Regions from separate parts of the Homo sapiens genome. Here region 2 is linked to region 1. Evidence: promoter capture Hi-C in human tissues and cell types (Jung and others, 2019). All regions are on one chromosome and are shown on one strand. The core of a region is centred on a gene start or on the middle of the fragment in contact, and the rest is flanking DNA. Distances in the headings are between cores, read along the strand shown. Region 1 holds the start of YES1 (YES proto-oncogene 1, Src family tyrosine kinase). Region 2 has its middle 3.0 kb from the start of LINC01925.

Region 1 (5,282 bases), core at 124-2,623:
ACAAGATCCTTGGCTAATACAAGATACTCCTTTATTACCTGACCATTCAAAATGCTTCCTGTCCACCGTGTGCCAAGCACTGTGATAGTTAAGATATTAGATTTACCATGCACTTTTCCTTAAATGCACAGTCACGTGTATACATTTAGTAATACTTTCCTTAGTGCGTAATTTAACTTTAGAAGTGTAACAGGATGGTTTAAATATTTAAAATTATCAAGGTATCTTTGGCACTGTAATCTTACAGTTATAATACATGAAGATACTATAATCATATCATGTGAAATCGACTGTGAAAACACACACCCGTGGAACGTATATACATAATAAATGGACATAAAATTGTGCTTCCACCAAAGACTTTCATTATTTCCTTTAGTAATTTATAATTATACAGTATGTTATTCCACGCCTGTATCAATTAATTATGCAGAAAATGATTCAACCAAATCCGAACTGTTAAGTCCTACTCATTACAAAACAAAAACTAAAGTCCCTACACCAGACTTGATTTTCAAAGAGCTTCTTAAAACAGCTCTGCCCCATGCCCAATAAAGTGAAAGCTGGAAGCAATTATCAAGAAGAAAAACACACTTTAAGACAATTTTCTTTAACACATGTGGACAGGGAACCGAACGCAACGGGAGGCGGAGTGGCATGATTCCGTAAAAGTGGACGCTGAATGGTAAATTTCCCAACCCCCAACCCAAAACAAAGGAAAACTTTAAACATGTTGCGGTTTTCAATCAAACCAAGTAAAGCCAGAAAGGCTCATCCACTCGCCCCACACACCCGCTCCTCTCCCCGCACAGCTGCTACCGGCGTCGGCCGATACACAGACCCCCAGCCTTTAGGACCCAAAGGGGCCGCTTCCCTCGCCCCTACTTCGGCCGTAGGGGCAAAAATAAACCTCTCCTCCCCGTCGCCGGGCGGTCCACACGACCCCAAAGACAAGGGGTGGGGAGTGTCCCCACGCCCCTGGAACCTCAGGTCGGACTTGGGCGGGACCCGGCAGGTCTGGACAGGGCAGAGACCGAGTCAGGGGCGAGCAGGTAGCGCGGGGAACGAGACAAGCCCGCCGGGCGATCCGGGGGAGGGGAGAAGTTTCTTCCCAACTTCCCGACTCGGGCCCGCGGGGGCGGGGAACCGCGGCGGCGGCGGCGGCGGCGGCTCCGGGCGCTGGGGCCTAGCCCTGTCCGGGCAGAGGTGGAACCCTCCGCCCGCGGGGCCCCACCGGGTCCTTACCTGTCCTCCGGCCGCGCTCTCATGAGTCGCTGCTACCGCAGCTCGAGGTGGCGGAGGGCGGAGGCGAGGCCCGCGGGCCCTCTCCCTCCTCCACCTCCTCGTCCCGGGGCGCCCGGCGGCAGCAACGACGGCAGAGCCGGCCCGGGACGCGTTACTTCAGGAGGAGGGAGTTCCCGGGCTCCCCACGCCTCGGCCTCACTCTCCACCTCCTCCGCCCCCCCCCCCCGGCCCCGCCCCCTGACTTCTAGCGGGGGCGGGGGCTGCGGGTACCTGCGCGCGCCGCCGTCCGCTCACCGGAACTCGGGCCACGCCGGCCCGGCTCCGGGGCCCCCAGCCTTCCGGCGCCTACGCCCCCGTCAGGTCCCCTCCGCGGGCTCCGGGCCGCTTTGCTGTGGTCAGGATAGGCGACCGGTCCGTGTCACTTCTCCCGACCCAACATGGCGGCGGGGTCCGGGGCGGATTCCCGGGGGCGGTGCAGGCCGAGGGGGCGTGAGGAGGAGGTGCTTCCCTGCCCGGAGAGCAGGCCCGCGGCGTCCCTTCCCACCCGCGAACCCACCGACGCTCGGCTGCCGCGGAGATTGAATGGAGCGCTCCGATTCTGCCCCTCTGCCTTTCTCTGTTCCTTGGCCCAGCTCTCAGTAGTGGCCAGGGCTTTGGGGCTTGCTTTTGTGGGGGAGGACGGGGTTGAGTTTTTTTGGTTGGCTGTTTGCTTCTCAGCGCTACGCTTCCGCACCCTTTGTCGTTGGTAGTAAAATCTCAAGCCCAACCGCGTGAGCCGGGGGCGTTACTCACACCCTCATCACCATCCTGATCGCCGTCCAAAAAACGTTCACGTCTTGCCTCCTTCCGAGGCAGGGATCCTGTCCCTGCCCCCAGGAGCTTCCTGTTGACTGTAGGTCGAACCAGCCTTGCCGGGAGGGGAACCGAAGCTGAGTTCTGTTTGGCGACTATCCCAGTCATGGTGGCTTTGGCTTATGTTGGGACAGCGTTTTTCTATATGATGCTGGCGGCAGCCCAGTGAGGGAAGTGCAACAAGTATGGTTCTCCTGCTTGTCAACTGTGGAAACAGCGACCCTGAAAGTGGAGGAGCCACAGCTGGAATCGTGTCCGTCTGAATACACGCACCTTTCCTATGAGCCTTGTAAAGCCAGTCGTTGAAGAAGGGGGAGGACCCGGAAGGATGGGGTGGGGGCGTAAAGATGAAGGTTAATCAAGGTCCTCATGGACTGAACCTTGAGGCCCTTCTGCTGCAGTCACTTTTGCCCTATCAGACTTTTAGAGTAACTTCCTCTCTTTATTTCCTCTTTGGTGGGGTTATCAGAATTATTTTGTGACTATTGGTTTCCTTTGCGGTTTTTAGTGAAATTCAGAATCATCTTCGACGGATAGGAAATAGTGCAATCATATGTGTCAGTATTCCGGTATTCTAGGAACTTAAGGAAATGCATATAAGGGTTTGAACATTTTTTTCTTCAGCTCACTAAATGAACGAAAGGTAGGCGTAGGCGTTAAAGAGACACATAATGTGGAACGATGCTGTATTTTCTTAGCTACTAAAACTTCATTTGTCATTGACTGTCTCAGGGCTTTAAAATTTTATGTAGGTCTATATTCAGCTTTTATTAAAATAGAAAATTCCTTGAGCTGTTGCCTTTCTTCACTAAATAGAGATAATTTCGTCTTCCTAAACACTCAGTCTCAAAAATCACCTCTAAAATAGGCCGGGCACAGTGGCTCACACGTGTAACCCCAGCATTCTGGGAGTCCAAGACAGGAGGATCACTTGAGTCTAGGAGTTGGAGACCAGCCTGGGCAACATGGGAGACCTCCTATCTATTTAGTAAAATATATTTTAAAAAATAATAATGAAATGAAATAGTAGTTTGCCCCAGTTTAAGGGGTAAGGTGGCTTTGAAGATGTTCTATATGGAGTTTTAAAGTTGGGAGAGTATGTCAGAATGTCACCTACAAGTTATGGATTACATTGACTTACTGAGTTTGCTTCTCTTCGCCCTCCCTTTTTTTTTTTATTACTACATTCCCTGATTTCTTTTTTAGTATATTCATCAATGTCAAACTTCAGTCTGTAAATAACCTGGAAAGTTTTCAATCTTACATTTAGTGGCTCACTTGTTTCCAGGAATATTTTTTAAAAAATTTTTTAATGAGGAAGAGAAAACTGGAAAGTCTTACTGAGTTTGGTGTAACAAAAATTGCTTTTAATCTGTTCATCCTGAAACGGACAAATAAGCTTGCCCCTACTTTTCCCTCCTGCACAGCATAGAGGTGTGGTATGTACATGTGTGTTAGGGAGTGATAAGGAACTTAAGTCTTGAAACCCCTGGAAATGTCTGCTGGAGGAAAAAGCTAGGGGAAAGCTTTAAACAAACAAACTTTATGAGATATGTTAGGTCCCTATAAAAGTAAAATGCTTTCATTTATGTAAGTTGATTAATGCTTAAAATTATTTGGCTGGAAGTTTGAAAAGCTGAAAGTTGAACTAGGGCCCACTCAGTACCACCTTGGAACCTGTGATTCTACCAGGAAATGTTTTTGTTTAGGGTAAACCTCTCCTACGTGCTATCAGTGATATGCTGCTGCTGCTGCTTCCGCCACTGAGGCTATGATGATTTTCTCTTCCTGGTAACAGTAAAAAAGCCTGCAGCCCTACACAAGGTGCCTCTTTTCTAACAACCATCCCCTCACCACCTTCCTCAAATCCATTCAGTGCCTGACATTGTCTGCACCACCTTAGCTTTGCCGCCTCCACCTGGCCAAGACTGCTCCTATGCCCAGTTAGGAAGAATATGAGAACCCCTCTCTAAGGATTAATTTGGAAGATCAGGAAAAAGGAAGGTATTTCTCCTTGAGTGTTGGGCCTATTGTGCCAAGCTCAGTGGAGAAATGCACCAACTCATCAAGTTCTCAATGCTCCTGATGTCTTCATTGCCTCAAGGACTGTGGTTTCTATATTACAGTTTTATTTCCCCTCAACTGGGAAAAGACTGTCTAAGCGACCTAAGTAAATGTATATTGAGGGCCAGGCGCGGTGGCTTAGCTTGTAATCCTAGCACTTTGGGATGCTGAGGTGGGTGGATCACCTGAGGTCAAGAGTTTGAGACCAGCCTGGCCAACATGTTGAAACCCTGTCTCTACTGAAAAAAAAAAAATACAAAAATTAGCCAGGCATGGTGGCATGCGTCTGTAATCCCAGCCACTCGGGAGGCTGAGGCAGGAGAATTGCTTGAACCCCGGGGGCAGAGGTTGCAGTGAGCTGAGATCATGCCACTTCACTCCAGCCTGGGTGAAAGAGCAAAACTTCGTCTCAAAATAAATAAATAAATAAATAAATAAATGGATATAGAAGGACATATCCTGCAATGAATATTTGTCAATCAAATGTGTCTTGCAATTAATAAATGTCAAACATGGCAATCTTACATGAACTTCAGCAAGTCTGTCTCCATCTTGCTCCCTTTTGTTGCTCTCTCTAGCTTTTCACTTCTTCACTACCTGGTTTACAATCTTAGAATTTAACCCTGTGCTGAGTATGCCTTCTCCGCTCCAGAACTATTTTCTGGCAGTATAGTCTTTGCTACTGGAATCTACTTTGGGGACATCTCTTGTTTTATTTCTGACTTCAATTCTTTCTAGTTCTGCAGCTTGACCCAGGCCTGTTTTATCTACCAAAGTCCCTGGTTTCAGCTCTAGCTTCTGGTACCACTCTGCTTATTCCTAGGTAGCTTTACCCACAGCTTCAGACTTTCATAGGCTCAGCTTGGTTTCTCACTCTGTTTGGTGACAGCAGTTTCTAGGCCAGATGAGCACCTTACATCCTCTTACATGCCCTCTGCCGAGTAGAATACAGCCTGTAGTGGACACCTCTTGAGGGTGCCTGTTTAACTCAAGTTCCTCTTCTCTGAGAATTAATTCTTCGATAGGTGGCATGTAGGCCTATGATCTGAGTACTGCTAATCCCAGGTTCTAGGCTGAAAGTTTGAATTTTGAGGAGTAACACAAAAGTAACTCGGTTAGTG
Region 2 (5,249 bases), core at 2,554-5,053, 290 kb before region 1:
CATCCAGTTCTTCAAATTTACTGGCATGAAGTTCACAGTACCCACTTACGATTTTTTTTAAAACCTCATCTGTGTATTTATATTTCTTATTTCTGATATTATTTGACTTCGTCTGCTAGAGGTTTGCCATTTCAAAGACACACCTTCAGCCCTGCTCATCTCTATAGTATTTTTATTTTGTTTTGTTTTTCTATTTTATTTCTGCTCTTATCTTTATTATTTTCTTCCTTATTTATTTGGTTTTACTGTGTTGCTCTAGGGTTTTGCTTTGTTTTAGATGAATGCTGACTCATACGGATGAGTAAATTTGCTTACTTTTTTGTTGATGGAGCAAAGGATTGTGGTAGATATTTGTTTTTGTTCTGGAGTATATGAGATGGAGCAGGAATCCCGTTTTTAGGGGATTGCGGACCTCCAAGCCGGGAAATAAAGGAAAATCTTGAGTTCCTTGAAGGGAAATTCCAGGCACCCAACTAGCCTTGAGAAGTAAACAACTTGATAAGCAAGAAGAATAGTAGCCTGAAACAATAGCCAAGGAAGTTAGAGTCAGGATATGGTTGGTTCCCCTATAGAAACTAAAGATAACATTTTATCTTAACATATGTCCCTGAGCTGTTTACAGAAACCCAGACCCCCACCAAATGGATCTGCTGGCACAGAGACCTCAGATAAGGGGAAACTGAGGACTGAACTCCAATCACCATTCTTTGTTCTAAATTTTTCCTGAGAGGCTTAGAGGGAGTCACACCCATTAGCCAGAGCTAACATTCTTTTCCGCCAACCCTAAATTTTTGCATAAAACGTCTCCTCTCTTTGCATCTATGACCTGTAAGTCCCTACTTCAAGATATCCTGCCCTTTCAAGCCAAAACCAAAGTGTAGCCTCCGTGTACTGATGTACGATTTTGTCTGTAACTGCTGTTTTCCTGAAATTTACCCCTGCCTTTAAAAACCCTGACCTCCAAGCCATCAGGAATGTCAGGATTTGAGGATTAGCTGTTTGGTCCTCCTTGCTTAGAGCCCCTGCAAATAAATGCCTTTCCTTCTACCGCTGCACAGCCTCAGTGTGAATATCTGGTTTTACTGCGCCAGGCAAGCAGACCCCTGTTCGCTTCTATTACATGTCCACCATCTGAATCCCCCTACTATGTTTTGGTAATTTCCCATCACAGGAGTATTGATGAGAGGCAGATGTATCCTCCCACTAGAGAAGCAAAACAGCTAGATATTTGCTGTCTCCACTTATCAAAGTATAGAATTTTAAGTTGCCAGTTATTACCTCGCAACACATTTAGCTTCTGACATGTATTGTTGCTGAAGAAAAGTCCGATATGAATCAGACCTTCCAGTGGGACAAGATGTGGAGATGGAAGACAATATTGATGATCCTGACCCTGTGTAGGTCTAGGCTACACTTTTGACAGCTGGTGTCAAAAGTATTGCGTGACTGTGTGTATGTCTTTGTTTTTAACAAAAAAGCTTAAAAAGTAAACAAAATAAAAATTTAAAAATATAAAAAGGCCTATAGAATAGAGATATAAAAAGAAAATATTTGTGTACAGCTGTACAAGATTTATGTTTTAAGCCAAGTGATTTACAAGAGTCAAAAAGTTAAAAACAATTAAAAAGTTTTATAAAAAGTTATAGTAAACTAAGGTTAACTTATTATTATGAAGAAAGACAAAAATTTTAAATAAATTTAGTGTAGCCTAAGCATACAATATTTATAAAGTCTACAGGAATATGTAGTAATGTCCTAGGCTTTCACATTCACTCACCACTCACTCACTGACTCACCCAGAGCCACTTCCAGTCCTGCAAGCTTTATTCATGTTAAGTAACCTATTCAGGTGTACCATTTAAAAAAAAATCTTTTATATTGTATGAAAGTATAAAAATATATACTTCTATATATTTTTAACTTTTTCTGTCTTTAGATATATTTAGATACAAATACCACTGTGTTAAAATTGCCTACAGTATTCGGTACAGTAACATGCTGTTCAGGTTTGTAACCTGGGAACCATAAGCTATACCATATAGCCTGTGTGTGTAGTAGGCTATACCATCTAGAATTGTGTAAGTACACTCTATGATGACCTCACAATGACAAAATCTCCTAAGGATGTGTCTCTTTTTTTTTTTTTGAGAAGGAGTCTCGCTTTGTCGCCCAGGCTGGAGTGCAGTGGCGCAATCTCGGCTCACTGCAAGCTCCGCCTCCCGGGTTCACGCCATTCTCCTGCCTCAGCCTCCCGAGTAGCTGGGACTACAGGCGCCCGCCACCATGCCCGGCTAATTTTTTTGTATTTTTTAGTGGAGACAGGGTTTCACCGTGTTAGCCAGGATGGTCTCGATCTCCTGACCTCATGATCCACCCACCTCGGCCTCCCAAAGTGCTGGGATTACAGGCGTGAGCCACAGAACCTGGCCCAAGGATGCGTTTCTTAAAGCATACCCCCTTCACTAAGCTCCAAGTGACTGTATATTTTCACACCTTTATTTTGGCCTCATGCTGGGTGGAGTCATTTCCTGCTTCTCGGCTTTGGGCTTGTCCATATTACTTGCTTTGACCATCATGATATTGTGAAATACACATTTGGTCTTCATCCTGTTTCCTAGCATACAGCTGCTAAAATCCCTGGAATCTCTGGAGTGATAAGAGTATCTTTTGTATGCAAATGAGATGACTGGTGGCTGGGGGCCCCTGGGTAGCTTCAGGATAGGGGCTGGTCACCAGAAAGACCAAGACAGGATTACAGGGTTGGGACATTGAGCCCTACTTCCAATCTCTGGGCAGGCGAGAGGGGCTGAAGGTTAAGTTGATCACCAGTGGCCAATGATTTAAGCAATTGTGCCTAGGTGATGACGCCTCCATAAAAACCCAAAAAGCGGGTGGGTTGGGGATGCGTGATGGGGGAGGTTCCAGATAGCTGAACATTTGGAGGTTCCTGCAGGGCAGTGCCCTGGAGAGGGCATGGAAGCTCCGGGCTCCTACTCACGTGCCTTGCCCTGTGAATCTCTTGCATCTGGTTGTTCATCTGTAGCCTTGTCCTATTCTTTACAATAAACTGGTAAGTGTGAGTAAAGTGTTTCCCCGAGTTCTGTAAGCAGCTCTAGCAAATTAATAAAACCTGAGGAAGAGGGCACGGGAACCCTGATTTATAGCTGATAGGTCAGAAGCACTGGCTACGTCTGGGGCTTGCGATTGGCTTCTGAAGTTGGGGGCAGTCCTGCGGGACTGAGTCCCCAACCCGTGGGATCTATTGCTATCTTGGTAGAAAATGTCAGAATTGAATTAAATTAGAGGAAACCTAGCTAGTGTCCGCTGGAGAATCTGCTGAAGAATTGGTTGCTTGGTGTGTGAGGAAAATCCCCCACATATCTGGTGTCAAAAGTGTTGAGTCACTGTGTGAGAGTAGAGAGGAGGAAACAGCTTGGTTTTCTTCTGTCTCACAGGCCTATTTGGAGCGACGTGAAATATGCCTTGCTGTTGGGCTCTCCCTCCTGTTCTCTGATGATCTGTCACGAGGGGGATATGAACAACTGCTGTCCCCAGAGCCTGGGCCCCCGAATGAGAAATGTGAAGCAGACCACGTGGCCTGGTAGCATTTGGTCCCAGAGGGATGAGACAGACACCCATGGGCCAGAATTGAAGCCAACCTGGGGCCTAGGGCCTACAGCCCAGAGGCTGTGCTAAAGCCTGGAGTCCAGCCAAACCCAGCGAAGTGACAGCCTGCCAGCAGCCCCATGTTCCTGAGAGTAAACAGTTATAACAGTTGAAGCTTCTGAATTTTGTTACACAGCGTTGTTGTGGCCATAGCCAACTAATGCCTTATACTTTATTTAGTTTTCTTCATGTTTGGAGATATTTGGTTTGCAGGTTTATTTTGAATGTGAGAGTTTTTGTTTGTTTCCTCTTCTCTGTGCTTATCACTGCCTGTTAGTACATTTCAGAAACCTTCCTGCAGGCCTCCTGGGCCTTGTGTCCAGAGCTAAGTCTTACGTGGATTCTTCATGTCCTATCGCCGGTTATAGAGGGAATAGTCCTCCAGCCAGAGTGTGTGTTGGCCCAAGTACTGGGTGTGAGCTGTGTTTGCATCTTTCTCTCTCTCTAGGTATGAAGCTCACATAGGTGGAGGCCCAGGTGGCAGGTGGTTGAAGCTTGAAGCTTTTCTCAGTTTCCATTGATGCAGGAGTAAGGGTCAGCTTGGCTCGCTTAGTTTCTGCCTTGCCTAGGGTTCTTTTAGTCCTCATCACCCCACAGGACACCAACTCCATGTCCACCTAGTTCCACACCTGGACGCAGCAGGTCACAGCTTCAGTCTTGCTTGTCTTTCTCTTCTGTATGTAGTCCAATGCTCTGTTCACCTTGCTTTTTTTCTTTTGAGACAGAGTCTCACTCTGTCGCCCAGGCTGGAGTGCAGGGGCACAATCTCGGCTCACTGCAAGCTCCGCCTCCCGGGTTCACGCCATTCTCCTGCCTCAGCCTCCTGAGTAGCTGGGACTACAGGCGCCCGCCACCACACCCGGCTAATTGTTTGTATTTTTAGTAGAGACGGGGTTTCACCGTGTTAGCCAGGATGGTCTCGATCTCCTGATCTCGTGATCCACCCACCTTGGCCTCCCAAAGTGCTGGGATTACAGGCGTGAGTCACTTTCCTTCTGAGATGTAAATGTCTTTTCAGTTTTTCTGAGTATATTTTCGCCGTCAGGTTGTGTGTTTCAGGTGGAAAGGGGGAGTGTATTGCATGAACTCATGAACTCACAATGCTATTCCAACCAGAATTCCCCTGGAATTTCTACTTGCAGGTTCACCAAACACTTGAATTTCATATACTCAAAACAAAACTGAAATTCTAATCATGTCTTTCCATAAAACCACTACTTTCTGGATTCTGTATTCTGGTTAATATTCCCATCCTCTTTTCATTTGCTGAAGTCAGAATCCTCATTTATTCTTTTCTCTCACCTTCCATATGTATCTGCATCCCATTTGACCACCAACTCCCCTCCACGCACGTGTTCATCCCATCTGTGAAGTAAGTTCATGCACATCTTATTCTATGAGTCCACAGCCTGAAAGTTCTCAGCTACAGAAAAAGTCCAAAGCCCTTTGTGTGGCATAGAGGGAAGGACAGGCACGGTTGTGGCCTGATTCTCTCTCAGCCTCAACTCTGGCTATCTTGCCCTTGGCTTTAACAAAACAAATCTATTGACAATTTCCGAGCTCTATCAGCCTGTTTCTGGCTC

Evidence for each region. The method cuts DNA at HindIII sites, captures the fragments that hold promoters and counts their contacts. A contact is called where the count stands out against the background at its distance.
Region 2: a fragment that was not itself captured here is called in contact with the fragment with the promoter of YES1 in region 1 in 1 of the 25 tissues and cell types used here (hippocampus).

Annotation. Positions count from the first base shown.
Region 1 is chr18:810,869-816,150 of GRCh38, forward strand. It overlaps YES1 (YES proto-oncogene 1, Src family tyrosine kinase), which reads right to left and starts at 1,374. Exons shown (of 12, transcript NM_005433.4): 1 at 1,246-1,374. RefSeq lists silencers at 981-1,070, 1,141-1,200, 1,251-1,760 and enhancers at 1,492-2,034, 2,035-2,576. The HindIII fragment of the contact is 17,179 bases long and covers 1-5,282 here.
Region 2 is chr18:515,698-520,946 of GRCh38, forward strand. No RefSeq gene overlaps it. Among named protein-coding and RNA genes, the nearest start is that of LINC01925, 3.0 kb to the left of the region's middle. RefSeq lists an enhancer at 3,140-3,339. The HindIII fragment of the contact is 4,309 bases long and covers 1,650-5,249 here.